5 separate regions of the Homo sapiens genome follow, and all the other regions are linked to region 5. Evidence: promoter capture Hi-C in 16 types of primary human blood cells and fetal thymus (Javierre and others, 2016). All regions are on one chromosome and are shown on one strand. The core of a region is centred on a gene start or on the middle of the fragment in contact, and the rest is flanking DNA. Distances in the headings are between cores, read along the strand shown.

Region 1 (2,764 bases), core at 74-2,573, 1.1 Mb before region 5:
TTCTTAGCTGTTTGCATGACCTTTGGTGAGTTGCCTCAGTTTCCACCTCTGTAAGGTAGGGAGGATAGAGTATCTACCTCAAGGGTTGTTGTGAAGATTAAGAGTTGATACTTGTAAAATGCTTAGAATAGTTCCTGGCACACAATAGGTACTCATTAAGTGTTTGTTGTTTGTTGTTGTTGTTATTGTAACCATTATTGCTTATAGGAAAGTCCCTTGTCTGGGAAACCCTCGGTCCTGGTTTTAGCATGGAAAGTCCCATGGCCTTGGTAAAAGTTCAAAACGGGTCCATATGGCAGGCTGAGGACAGAGAGTCAGCCTGGCGCCCTGGTGGTCACTCTCCACTGTCCTGCATCTTTTTCAGAGCTCACCTCTGAAAAACTGCCCCTTACTCTTTGTAATTGCCACCCTCCCAGTATTTCAGGACACTGTACTACTTAGCCAACAGGGTGTACAGAAATCATATACCTTTTTCGCACATTCTTCTATGTACTAAGCTTGTCCAACCCGCCTTATTCTGTTGTCGTTGTTGTTCTGTTTTGTTTTGTTTTAGGCTTTTAGCAGCCTGAAGCCGTGGTTTTTAGTTTCTGTCTCTAATGAAGCTGAAAAGAGGGATGAGGAAGGGGCTTTACTGGCCCAGCCAGAAACAGAAACTAAGAACCTGTGACTGTATTCAGTCTCTTTAACATCCCAGATTGTAGACCATCACTCTAGTTTCCCCACTTCCTGTTAACTTTTATAACTATCTCTGAACTTTAACAGAACACTATTTTGTGTTTGCAAATAACGTGCTAAAACGCCTTTCCTAGCCGAATCAAACCCTAGCATCTAGTGCCCCCTGCTGCCCTTTCATAGGAAAGGCAAGAAGGATGAAAGTTTGATTCACTGACAGTAAAATTTTTACTTGTCGAGATTTCAATAGGAATCGGTATAAATATCCTAAATTATATTCACGTTTCATCTTTTCTTTGAACCTACTCCTTGACTTGGTTTTTTGTCTTGCCTTTGCGAACATTCATTTTTGCTTAATTATATTTTTCTCATTTATATTTGCTTTCCTTGAATTTCCTTTTGGTTGTTTTGCTATTGCTATTTGAACTTGTTTTGTCTTGGCTCTTTCTCACTTTGGCCATGCCTTGACACAGACGCGCGGGGTCGAGAGGCTGCGGGCTCGGCGGGCGGAGGGCGCATGGGAGCCTCTTGGCCCTGGACCTGCCCCTGCAATCCTTCCGCGGGATCTCTTGGACCCTCTCCAGGGTCCTGGCTCTGAGACGTTGCTAGAGGACAAATCCGCGGGATTTAGAGCGCGGCCAATGGGACAGCGGTGCCTGGCTGAGTGTCAGGCAAAACTAGCCAATAAACATGTAGTTTGGGCAAGGTGGGTCCGTCCCCTAACTCGGACCTTATAAAGCGCGCCCGCTGCTCCCACAAAGCCGGGCTGTCCCAGGCTGAGGCGGTTGCTCCCCTGCCGGGTGTGTTAGAAGCAAGTTAGAGGAAGAAGGTCTTGGGGACTACGGGCGCCACCGAGAACCCATACGAGGCAGCCGCCGACGGCGGGTCGCCGGGGCGGGGCCAGAACGGCGCCAAGGCCAACCAGAACGGCGGCAAGAACTAGGGGGACGCGGGGCAGGTGCTGTGGGAGTTGGCTGGACCTGTGGGATCGACGTCTGCGCCGTCCAGGAGCCGCCCAGGGGAGAGAGCGGAGACTCGGGAGGAGGATGTGCGCTCCGACCCGGGCAAGGCTTCCCATCCCTCCCTTCCTCTTCTCTCCTTCCCTCCACCTGGGCTCGGAGTCAGGATCTGACCGCGGGCTCTGCCCAGGAAGACCGAGTTCCTTGAGAGCGACACCTAAGCGCCGGGGAAGACAGGGATAGAAGAGACGACAGCCCTTTGATAAGAGGGTTTTTAGACTAACTTCCACCTGTGACGAGTGCATGGGGCCTGCGCCCTGAGAGGTTGCCTTTCCTTTTCCTCTCCCACCCTGGGGGTTTGTGGTGATGTTAAGTTCTGTTAGGACCAAGGTGGATCTCAGTAAGGAGGTAGAGTAGATTTGTGAACAGCTGTCGGAGGTAGAATCTTTGCAGACCCAGAGTGGGTGGGTGTAGACACTTTGCCATGGGTGGTAGCTTTATTTGTAATCCTCCCAGTGAAAGCTTTGGGAAATCCAGCCCTCCCAAACTCTTGCCTTTCTTGTAAGACTTTCTAAGCGCATGGCTTTGTCGTAAGACTTCTCGTGGCCATGTGTCTCACCCTACCGTTCGTCTCACCAATGAACCAGAGCTGGGATACCAGCAAAAAGGACCCAAAAGACTGTTTCACCACAATTGAAGAGGTCGTGGACCATCCCCCAAAATGAATCCCAACACTGGAAGACCAAGAGGGTTGACGTTTGCTATCTTGAAAGCTGCAGCCCCCGTAGAGAAGGTAAGCTGTGTATTCCATCAAAGGTCTGTGTGTGCAGGATTGCATTTCCAAGAGAAGGCATTCCTGGATCATGATCATTTTGTCTGAGCTGCATGTGGCCAAGTGCACTGGGGGAAGCAGAGTTTAGGAACTTGTTCCTGTATGGATTAAGTGGGAAGTGAAAAGTATTAAATATATGGGCGGGAGTGGTCCAGGAAGGGGAGAGTGGACATTTAGTACCTGTTTGGGCCCCTGCACTAAATGCTTCACATATAAGGATTAGAAAAACACCCAAAGATTCTTAGATAAGCATTTCAGTGCCATTTTACAGAAGGAAAAACTAAGATGCAGAGAGGATTAA
Region 2 (2,797 bases), core at 125-2,624, 1.5 Mb before region 5:
CAGCTCCCGAACTTTGCTCTGATAAATTCCCTGGTCTTCCTGCAAAACAGCCACCACATATCACCATAGCCACAAATTTAAAAACAATGTTTCTAAACAGAAGTAGTTCTCATAGCCAGATAGCTAAGTCAATCTCTGCAGCAGAGCTGAATCCCCAGTAAGTATGTGCTCATCAATTTCTCCCTTTCATTCACTGTTTTTAGATTCGAAATAACACCCTAAGAGGGGACTATAAGAATTATAATGACTTCCTCAAGGTCCATGCTGTTATTCCCATCATCATGGACAACTTTTCTGCATGCTGTAATTTCTGTCTTTAGTGGAGAATTAAAATGAGCTCATGAGAAGTCTAAATGGACAGTAAGTGCAAACTTTGTTAAAATGTTAAGTTAAACCTAGCAATGTGAATGTTAAAGGTAACAACGTGAATAGATGGATATGTTGTTTCACTGTAGTAATCATTTCACCATGTATATCAAAACATGTGCACTTCAAATATATACAATAAAAATGTAAATAAAACAGACTCTTAATAGTCACATTAAAATGGCTTTTCATTTAAGAATTATGTAAAAAGTAATATTTTTTCCAATCATCTCTATAATACGGAAAGGGTTCTCATACCCCGACCTAAAGGAATAGAGAATCTCAGCTATTTGGTCACATCATCAACCCTTCAAGATGGTTTTTTCAACATTCTATGGCTTTAAGTCTTGGGTTGCACATAAAATCCCCTTGGCCTGCACACAAAACACTTTTTATCTGCATCTTAGTTGGTATTGAAAAAGAATGCAGCCGAATTATGGAGTCTTTTCCTCCAGGTAAAACGTCAGTCCCTAAAATCTGAGCACTCTGCAACGCGGCTGGTCACTATAGCCCTAGGGCAGCCCCTCCCCCACAGTCTCCTCAAATCAAGAGAGAGCAGTGAAATGCAAAAGGCCGAGGTGGGCTTTGCCAATCTGCTTGCACTTAATGGGAACCTGTCGCCTTTTGCGCGCCCGGACCATCGCTTGTACTTAAGAGAAAGCTGGCTTCCTAAGAGTTCACTTATCGAACACAAACTAGCGAGTCCGGCGTTGAGAAGTTACAAGATTGGGGCTGGAGGCTCGGGCCCGGCAGGCTCCGCTGCGGCACACGGTCTGGAGGTCTGGCGGGCCTCTGGCTTCCCGGCCGGGCCGCGTCCGCAGGGGCTCCGAGCGCTAGAGCCCGCGCGCCGGCGCCTCCCTCACCTCGTCGTCCAGGAAGTCCAGGTAATCTCTCTGAGCCTCCCGCAGCTCCACATCGTCCAGCACCACGGTACCCGCCATGCCCGCTGCCAAAGAACTACCTCCACCAAAGTCGCGTGGAGGTTCCCAGGATGACTCCACCCCGGCGCGAAAACTTCCGAACTCTTCCCGCCACCAAAGGTTACCTCGAGGAAGAGGCGGGGACCTTGGGAGCATATAAGCATTATGATTGGCTGAGTTCTCTGAGGTCGGACTAGCGACTGTCCAATCAAAAGCTTCTTCTTCTTCGGGTTTTCCGCTGCGCGCCCCGCGGTGGCGGGAAACGTACCATCCGGGATTCTCTGTTCCTCCCCTCCCTCCGCCTCACTCACTGACGAGCAAACTGACCAATAGGGCTGAGAGGAGGCTCACAGAGGCTGGTCATTGAGCAGCTGGAGGGGACAGGCTGGCGAGAGGGAAAGCATTGCGTTCTGGGAGTTGTAGTGTTCTCCCTCCTTTCCGGATGTTTTTGCAGGGTTTTTCAAGCTGCAGAACTTTTGACCCGATGCAACGACCAAATTCAGAGGATGGTGCTTTATAACGCAGGGAGATGAAAACATAAAAGCAAATCATTTTTAAGATATATCCAAATCAGAACTGCCCTCCAGTGGCATCCTAGTGTAAAAGTGGATTTTGAGAATCTATAGGATAGAATATAGAACTACAGTACCTTAGGGAAAGATTAGTTAAAAACCCATTTGCTATCTGATACCGTTGCCTGACGAACTCCATAAAGACATCGCCGCAGAGAAGGATGAAGTGAAAAAAAAAATCTGTGTTTACCCTGCCCCCTAGAGACTTCATCGTGTGTTATACAAATTTTGGAAACCGTTACTACTCCATCTTACTTAATAACAGGTAAATTAAAGGCTTTCTGGTCTTATAAAAAGATCACAAGATCCTTTTAAGTAACTTAGCTTACTGAACGATCAGCTCAAGAGGGGAAAAAGTGTTTCACGTCACTTTGATTAAATATCAATCAGTAACTAACAGCAAATCTGAAACCATAATGACTAAAAGATCATCGCACGTCCAAATTTGTATGTTTGTTTTCAGTCCGTCGTGGTTGGCTTTTTCTTATATTTCTAGTTTTATTTTGAGATATAATGTATATACAGTAAAATGCACAAATCTTAAGTGTACAGCTCAGTGAATTTTTACCTGTGCTTACACCCATGTAACCACTCTGCACAATAAAGAGCAAGCCCATTGCCCCAGCATGTGTTTTTAATTTTACTGAACAAGAAGCTGAAATACTGGATTGCCCAACATCAGACATTTGATAATTCTTTATCTGAAATTTCAGCCAACTATTAGCTTATGTTTTAAAGTCTTCAGGACTCACTATGTACTGATAAATATTCTAAGAATAATCTGCCTAAACAAAATATATAGGCCATCTATTTGTGTGGGTATATGTATTTCTAGTTATTATTCAGTTTATAGTTACTGTATGTTTTGTGCCATCCTAGTGGGCAGATAAATCGATCCTTAGCCAAAGCAAAAAGGCTGTCATTTGACTGCTTGCTTTT
Region 3 (2,824 bases), core at 219-2,718, 1.4 Mb before region 5:
TCTGTATTGGCAGTAAACTACCTGTGACACTGAGATATGCCTTCTGTGTCTGGCTTATTACTCTATCATGTTCCTAAACTGGCTTGTCACAAACGCCTGTTACAAAAATCAGATTCCTGGCCTCCATGTCAGACCTAATGAATCCAAATCTCTCGGCACGTGGGTTTTGATTACTTTTTATTTTTAAGCTCCTCAGCAATGATGGATAGCTTTCTCCCCCCCCCCCCAAAAAAAATGTTTCAGGAATAGGATTATGTTTCTTTTAAGAAAAAATAATTTAAGCAAGTTTTGTAAAAAGCATCAAAGGCTATACCTATGATGCTGACAATATTTCACCTCACTTATCTGCTTCTTTCCCAAGACTTAGTCTTTCTCTTTGAAGGAGCTGTGTTCCTCCTAGTGGTTCTGATCTTTTTCATTGCAGCTGCAGGTACAAACGAGGGATTGAGGTGACCACCCTTCAACCTGCAGCTCTTCAGTCAACAAAAATCAAGTACCTATCAGAGTGCACCCTGCCCTGCAGCACATATTCAAGGCTTTCCCTACAAAAACAAAGGTGTTTAACCGAAGGGATTGATGGTAGAATAAAGAGAGCTGGGCGCGGTGGCTCATGCCTGTAATCCCAGCACTTTGGGAGGCGAGGTGGGCGGATCGCTTGACCCCAGGAATTCGAGACCAGCTTGGGCAACATAGTGGGACACTATCTCTACGGAAGGAGGGAAGTAGGGAAGGAAGGAAGGAAGCAAGGAGGGAAGGAGGGACGGAGGGAAGGAGGGAAGGAAGGAAGGAAAAAGAAAAGAAAGGAAAGAAAGAAAGGAAAGAAAGAAAGAGAAAGATTGATTTTAAAAAAGAGTTAAAAGGGGAAAAATACAATGTGGCAGTGGGAGAATTAAGGATGAGATGATTGCATTAGTTCATTGACCATCCCTGAGCAACAGAAACACAATCATGGGTAATCCTCGGCCCCTGCCTACAAGAAGCATGGGTCTAGTTTAGTAGCACTGCCAACTGGACCGACCATTTACACTTCTGTGTGAAATGGGGCAGAGGGGGGAGAAAAGAGTGCCTGAGCTCACAGCGTTGGCGGGGCGCAGTGAGGTCCGCCAGGACTAGGTGGAAGGAGAGAAGGAACGTCCCTCTCTGCAACTCATCTAAGGGCCTGCTCGGACCCCGGATCTCACAGCGAGAACTACCGCCTCGCTACACCCGCCTTTCCCCGCGCCACCCAACAGCTCCCACGTCTCATCCTCCGGGAGCGGGGCGGGGCGAAGCGGAAGAGGAGGGGCCGACACAACCACGCCCACTAGCCGCGCTCCAAGGCCGCGGCCCACTTACCGCGAGAACGCGGAGTCCTGCGGATGGCGCACGCGCAAACCTCCTGTGATGCCTGCGCCTCCTGGCCCCGCCTTCCGCTCGTGGGAGTTCCGGATGTTTAGCGTTACCATGGATCCTGGAGGTGCCCGCGAACACTGCTTGTCGCCTGGGCAACCGGAGAGGACGAAGCAGGACCTAGGTGGCGGCGGTGGTACCGGCTGCAATGGTGTCCAATCCCGTGCATGGCTTGCCCTTTCTTCCGGGCACGTCCTTTAAGGACTCTACGGTGAGCAGTTATCTGCCAGACTCCCACCTGTCCCCACCTTCCAGCAGCCCAGGAGGTTTCCCCGCTCAGTGCACCTCCATTCCCCTCCACTCAAGTCTGTCTTCTCTCCAAACACGTCTTCTGTCCTGACCCTGTTCTTTATTCTGGGCCGAACTTCTGCCGTTCTTCCCTAGCCATCCTCATCCCCTCTCTCCGATCCTTTGCCCTCCGCCTCATCCCTCTCTAGTTTTTTCCCACTCCATCTTGGCAGTGTGTTGGCGCCTTCATTCTCATCCCGTTAGCCGCGTTCTTTCTTACGGCCCTGCTCCTCCAAGCCCCTGCCTCTTGTCCCTTTAGATCACTGTTTCCCCCACCCTACTCCCAACCTATCTCTGGGCCCTCTCCCTAGCTCGTTCTCTCACATCATAACCTGTCTCCGTCCATCGCCGCCCTTAAAACCCCCCGCCACTATGCACCTTCAACCTCATTCCCACAGGTCCGTCATTCCCGCCCCACCTCTTCCTCTTCTGAATCCTGTACCCGGTAGTATCTCCCACTCCCAGCTCCATTTCCTGTTTTGTATGTATATCGATTCCGCTCCTCTTCTTTCCGCCAGGTCTTTTTCCTTTCTTCTTTATGCTTGCATCCAACCCCATTCTTTTTTCTCCATCTTCTACATTTTCCACAATTTAGTCCCATCCTCTCCCCATTCCTTTCTTTCTCCGTTGCGGGTTTTCCCCAAAACTTGCTCACCTTCCTCCCAAAGCATCTTTCCCTGCTTTGTAAGAGATATTCCTTTCCAGTTCCCTCAAGAATTGATTAGTTGCTGTTTATTCTTCCCCGGCCCTGTTCTTTTTATTCTAACGTTTTTGTAAAAAGATTCCTGTTTAGATTTTGTTTTGCTCCTTCCCCAACCTTGTGTTTTTATTTGCATTTTCTAGACAAAATTTTTTAAAAAGTAGCAGCAGCTTGGATTCTTTTTTTTTTTTAAACTCTTGCCACAGTTTAGCTCTTAAAATTATTTGGTTTGTTTTAATTCTGACAGGGCTACTGAAATGTATGTGCTGAAAAATCAATAATGAGATTCAGTAGACTGATCATCATAGATGAGCTAACAGTAGTTTATGTTTATATAGTTTAATACTTTAAACTCTTGCCTTCCTCTCCAGCTTCACAAAGTTAAAATATTTTGTCAATTTATTTTCTTTGGAAGAATCAATTTAGAATGAAATCGAAAGTTTGGTG
Region 4 (2,700 bases), core at 76-2,575, 1.4 Mb before region 5:
TAGTGATGCTGTCACTACTGAGAATAATTTTGGAGCTCCTGCTTTGGAGTTGCCTTCCGAGTTTGCAACACATTTCCTGATTGCCTCAGTGGTGGCAAACCTTCCTCAGCTGGGAAACAGCCAGGCACTGTGCGGGGCCAACTTGGGCTTCCGAGGTGGGGAATCGAGGTTGTCAATAAGTATGCTCATTAAAGTAATGAAAATTCTCTTGAAAGACTGGCAGTTCTAAAAGGGGCATTTAGTAATGGCATGGAGTATGTATTTAGGATTGGAAGGAATTACAGTTGGTCCCTGAATAACACCGGGGTTAGGGGCTCCCATCATCTCCACAGTGGAAATTTTGAGTACAACATTTAACTCCTCAAAAACTTAACTACTTTGAAGCACAACCTTCATTTTGGTGTTTATGCTCTGGTATGTATGTAAAGTAATTGGTCCTGTCACTTTATTGTTATAGCTTATGGCTTATTGGGCTAGAAAAAGTAAGCCTTTCTTTGCCCCTCCTGATACTTGTTACTAGGCAGTCTCTGTCATTGTGGATTTTTACAGAAAGCAAAACAAAAATACAAAAGACTTGTTGTCTCACCAAAAAAAAAAAGGTACCCAGAAAGCCATTTGCCCCAGCTGTAGGTAATGCCTGGTGCTTGATTTTTGATGTGAAAGGATCCACAGAAGTAAAGGGAAGAGAATGATTTCTGAACATTCATTTCAACTTTGGGATTTCATGGCACACAGTAAAAAATGTACTGAACATATCCCTTTTTAAAATTCGCATTTTTTTTTTCAGGTTGTGTTGCATAAAGCTTCATACAGCCACAGCTTGAATCTTGATCTAGCTGTGGTTTGGGGCAAGTTGTTTCATCTCTTTTGGCCTCAGTTTTCTTAAAATGAAGATATTAATGAGTATGTACCTCATGGGGCTGTGATGAAGATGAAATAACATTGATGCGTGTAGAACACTTGAGTTCGGTGCCGGACACATCATGAGTGCTCAACAGAGTCTACTTATTCTTGTTAGGAATATTATTTATTGATAGTCTTATGTTAAAATTCCTTTGAAGCCATGTGGAAATTTATCATTTCCCAGGTAATGATATTCCCTTCAGTTAGGTTTTGCAACTAACTACAAATAGAACATTTTGGTTTTTGCCCTCCTGGTCTTTTAAGAGTTTTTAAAGGGTAACCTGAAAAGCAACGACAATTAGTTATTTTTTATTTATTCAGAAACGAGGAAATACAGACTCCAAATAAGTGGAGTCAGTGCTCCCAGTTACTTTCTTTTGAATTCAGATTTTTTTTTTAAATGAGCATTCCTGTTATGATTGTATATTATGTATAACAGTTTGGTGTGGTAAGGCAAATCTGAAAGAAAAAAGTTTAAAAGCCTCTTCTCTAATTTTTTTCCCTTCATCCAATGAAAATATTATTCTAACGAAACAGCTACAGTTCTCTTGGCACGTATTGAAAGAGACGATTCTGGTAAACATTCCCTTCATTCCAAATGTGAGTTTTGCTCTGCTGTGTTTTTTAAACAATAGGGAAGAATAGCCTGGCACTGAAATCTCAGCTCTTCTGTAAATGTCAACACTAGTTTTTTTTCAAGTTTATAAATTTTATTTTATATATATATGTACATATATTAGAAAGATGGGAAAGTTTCATCTTAATTTTAATCAGATGATTAGGGGCTGCTATGAAATAGTTAATGTTTCATGAAATGTTGACCATTTAGTGAGAATTCTCTGTTCTAGGCAAGCAAGTGCTGGAGATGGAGAGGCTTGAGACACAGGCTTTGCCCTTCAGAAGTTCATTCACATCATGTGCTCTCTTACAATGATGCAGGAACAAAAGCTTCTTCTCCTAATGGCCTGTGGAGCTAAGAATTCATATGGATTTTACTACATGATATTTTCCTTCAATTTCTCAAAGAAGGGTAAATAGGTGGATCTCTCAATAGTGTTCATATTTTTGAGGTGGATTAACTCTTTCAAAATTAGATCCCAATATGTACTCAGAGGCCATAAAAGGAGAAAATAGCTATAATTAGTGAATTACAAAGTATATCTGCAGGATGGGGTGGTATTATTGCTATACGAAACTTTCCTGGAATGTTGTGTTTGGTTTTTGCTCTGTCTTCTGAGTAGCGGTTTATGTACTTGTAAAGGACCAGGAAACAATATACATTGTGGCTTAGACTGGAGCCATGATTCTTTTTTTTTTGAGATGAAGTCTCCCTCTGTCACCCAGGCTGGAGTGCAATGGCGCAATCTCGGCTCACTGCAACCTCCATCTCCTGGGTTCAAGCAATTATCCTGCCTCAGCCTCCTGAGTAGCTGGGATTGCAGGCGCGCACCACCACACCCAGCTAATTTTTGTATTTTTGTAATTTTTGACCACCATGTTGGTCAGGCTGGTCTCGAACTCCTGACCTCGTGATCTGCCCATCTTGGCCTCCCAAAGTGCTGGGATTACAGGCGTAAACCACTGTGCCCAGCCTGGAGCTGTGATTCTTAATGGGGAGAAGTGGGTGGTGAATTTGCCCCTTTCCCCCAGAGGATGAAATTTGGTGGTGTCTGGAGACATTTTTGATTGTCATACCTGGAGGGGGAGGGATGTTACTGGCATCTAATGAGTGGAGTCCAGAGATGCTGCTAACCATCCTAAAATGCACAGGACAGCCCCGCACAACAAACAGTTATC
Region 5 (2,700 bases), core at 26-2,525:
TCTTCTATAGAAAAGTGAACTCCGTGGCTCCAGATTTTAGCTATAGCAGCTGGAGGGCGGGAGTGAGTGTGGGAGAGCCAGCGTGGCAGCGGCCGCAGGTGGAAACCTGGAGTTTGAGTATGCTTGAAAGGGAAAGTGTGGAACGAAGGGGCGGCCGGGTGGGGAATCAGAGAAGCCCCCAAGGAAATGATTCATCATTGTGATTGACCTTGACTTTAGCAACCCTTCATTAAAGGAGAAAATTTGGTTATTCGGAGATGGGGACTGTGTTGCAAACAGTTACAGGCAAAGAGGGGCAGTTCAGGATTCCGGCCGTGGTCCGCAGGAATGAGTCGGGGCGAGGGAATGGTTGTTATAACCCAATAGTGAGCCTCCCCGGTCATCCGGGCTGGACGGGACTGGGGTTGTAGCAGAAAAGCAGGAGCTGTATGGAGGATGCTCACCTGGCAGCCTCGATCTGCCCCTCTTCCCTCGCTCCTCCCTCCGCACCAGCCACAGCTAGTTGTCAGGGGCCAACATCTGGGCCGGGCTGGAACTGGCTCAGAAACTCGCGTTTGCCTGCTTATTTCTGCAGCTGGGCTCCTTGCCAGGTGCAACCACATCTATGAGAATCTCGCAGACTCTCAGACTCCTATGCCTTTGCTGGTACAGGGAGGAGGATTTACTATCACTCACTGCATAAACCATGATCACCAGAGATGTGCTCCCAAGTTACAAAGCCTGCAGGCGGTGCCCGAGGACCAGAGGGCCGGGCGCGGCCAGCTCACACTTCTGGGGCAGCCGTGAGCAGCGGGCACACGGGCAGCCACGAAAGCAGCAGCGAGGGTGGTGCAAACACCTCAAAACTACACCGAATCCAGTAGCGCCTGGCGCCCCCGGCGCGCAAGGTACGCTTTGGGGCGGTCCTGTGTGACCCCGGAAGAGAAAGTTGTTTTGGGGAAGGGGAGCAAGGAGAGGAGTGCGAGTTAAATAAAACTAAATATCAAAGTTGTTCTGCTCTGCTCAGGCCGCCTCTACTCCGCCTCATCTTTGTCCCAAGTCCTTTCACAGTCTGCCTTCCTCAAACGGCCCGATGCGCCCCCGTCTTTGCCGGAGTAAGCAGACCGCCAGCAGCCGGCCCGCAGGTCAGTCGACCCTCTCTGGATGCAGGTCGCCGGGAAAACCCGGAGCGGAGCATCCCTCGGGCCGGGAAACGCCCTCGGCGCGCACCCACTGGCGCGCATGCTCAGTCCGCGCGGCGGCTGCGAGTAGGAAGCTCCGCGCGGCGGCGGGGGCGGCGACGGCGACTGGCGGGTGGGAGTGGAGGCACCGGCTGGCGGGCGGGGGTACAGGGACGGGGCAGGGGCTCCCGCTCCAGGTTCCTTGAAGCACTTCCGACCGCGAAGCCCGGCGCGAGAAGCGAGCTAACCCAAGAGCCAACAACGAGCGCGGAGAGGGCAGCGGACTGAGCGGAGCCGCCGGCCAGAGCGGGCTCGGAGCCCGGGTCTCCGCCGCTCGGGACCCGGCTAGGCGGCGGCGGGGGCGGCGATGTTCCACTGCATCCCCCTGTGGCGGTGCAACCGTCATGTGGAGAGCATCGACAAGCGCCACTGCTCGCTGGTCTACGTCCCCGAGGAGATCTACCGCTATGCCCGGAGCCTGGAGGAGCTGCTGCTGGACGCCAACCAGCTCCGCGAGCTGCCCGAGGTAAGGGTCCGGCCTCACCTGAGCGCTCTGCCCGCTCGTCTGCTGTCCCTTCCGCTCCCATCCTCTCTCGTCCCCTCTTCCATCTCCGGGTCCGGCGTGAAGGAACCTTCCCTCTTTTATGCATTCACCTGCTTCTTTCTCCCCCTGTCTCTTTACTTCCATCCTTTCCCAGTAAAAGTTCCTTTTCATTTTATTCAAAGTGACCGGATATTTTGCGCGTAGTCACTGGGGCTCGTGCTATTGGAGAAGCGTTCTGGACTGTTAAGTAACTTAGATCCATGCTAGGTACTGACACCTGGCACTTGTGCCCGGTCAGGTGAGAAGCCGGGTGATTCGGGCTGTTTCCATCTGGAAGCTACAGAGCACTGCATCCTCCCCCCCTCCACTCCCCGGGGTCGTTCCCCCACCAAGGGCCGGGCGCGCCTCTCCTTTAGTCAAGGCATGTCCCGGAGGACCTTGTGACCTGGGCAGCGCTCAAGCGGGCCGCACTATCTCGGCATCTTGGGAGGAATGAGGAATGTGCTCCGTGCTTTATCGCGGGTGGGCTTGGCCGGCTGGCCTGCGGTGGCTGCGGGGGTGGACGCGAGATGGGCGCAGGGGAGAGCTGGGCCTGGAGCGCTAGGGGCAGGTGCCCAGATGCCGGCCGCCCGGGCCTTGCCTACGTGGACCTGTTGCGTGGTGGGAGCTGCGGTGAACGTCAGCGGAGGCTCTGCCCGCGGGCCAGCCTTGCAGCCGCCTTTCCCGGAGCGGGCACAGTCGTCCTGCTGACTTTCTCTCCTTGCAGTGATGCGTTATCTCTTCAGAGTTGTTTATGTAAATTGATCACTCCATTGCCGCCGAACTTGTCAAGCGACATGTGCTGATGGTGCTTTGACCGAGAGTAGGGGTACAGCGAACTTCTTTCAAGCTTGCCTCGGGAACTTAGCTAGAGTAACCCCTCGGGGAAGGTGTCTCAAACCCAGGTGTGTGCAGGAAGTCGGTGTGCAATAATCCAAAGGTGTGCAGGAAGTAGGG

Evidence for each region. The method cuts DNA at HindIII sites, captures the fragments that hold promoters and counts their contacts. A CHiCAGO score of 5 or more calls a contact.
Region 1: a fragment that was not itself captured here is called in contact with the fragment with the promoter of LRRC1 in region 5 in 1 of 17 cell types (total B cells); the score reaches 7.1 in total B cells.
Region 2: the fragment with the promoter of MCM3 here is called in contact with the fragment with the promoter of LRRC1 in region 5 in 2 of 17 cell types (total B cells and naive B cells); the score reaches 8.4 in total B cells.
Region 3: a contact is called between the fragment with the promoter of EFHC1 here and the fragment with the promoter of LRRC1 in region 5, in 2 of 17 cell types (naive B cells and total B cells). The highest score is 6.7, in naive B cells.
Region 4: a fragment that was not itself captured here is called in contact with the fragment with the promoter of LRRC1 in region 5 in 1 of 17 cell types (fetal thymus); the score reaches 5.7 in fetal thymus.

What each region holds. Positions count from the first base shown.
Region 1 is chr6:52,662,996-52,665,759 of GRCh38, forward strand. It overlaps LOC730101 (a long non-coding RNA gene), which reads left to right and starts at 1,406. Exons shown (of 3, transcript NR_024405.1): 1 at 1,406-2,424. RefSeq lists enhancers at 165-264, 1,196-1,490, 1,862-1,981 and a silencer at 1,196-1,490. The HindIII fragment of the contact is 1,656 bases long and covers 496-2,151 here.
Region 2 is chr6:52,283,368-52,286,164 of GRCh38, forward strand. MCM3 (minichromosome maintenance complex component 3) reads right to left here and starts at 1,375. Exons shown (of 17, transcript NM_002388.6): 1 at 1,230-1,375; 2 at 1-39. The coding sequence starts at 1,307. RefSeq lists enhancers at 1,253-1,332, 1,653-1,852. The HindIII fragment of the contact is 4,216 bases long and covers 1-1,499 here.
Region 3 is chr6:52,418,874-52,421,697 of GRCh38, forward strand. EFHC1 (EF-hand domain containing 1) reads left to right here and starts at 1,469. Exons shown (of 11, transcript NM_018100.4): 1 at 1,469-1,600. The coding sequence starts at 1,538. It overlaps LOC124901331 (a long non-coding RNA gene), which reads right to left and starts at 2,108. Exons shown (of 2, transcript XR_007059611.1): 1 at 1,336-2,108. RefSeq lists an enhancer at 1,438-2,029. The HindIII fragment of the contact is 6,560 bases long and covers 1-2,824 here.
Region 4 is chr6:52,364,548-52,367,247 of GRCh38, forward strand. The region is part of intron 1 of PAQR8 (progestin and adipoQ receptor family member 8); the gene reads left to right. Among named protein-coding and RNA genes, the nearest start is that of PAQR8, 3.7 kb to the left of the region's middle. The HindIII fragment of the contact is 1,048 bases long and covers 802-1,849 here.
Region 5 is chr6:53,793,730-53,796,429 of GRCh38, forward strand. It overlaps LRRC1 (leucine rich repeat containing 1), which reads left to right and starts at 1,276. Exons shown (of 14, transcript NM_018214.5): 1 at 1,276-1,686. The coding sequence starts at 1,528. RefSeq lists silencers at 1-96, 1,142-1,381 and an enhancer at 1,348-2,060. The HindIII fragment of the contact is 4,441 bases long and covers 1-2,591 here.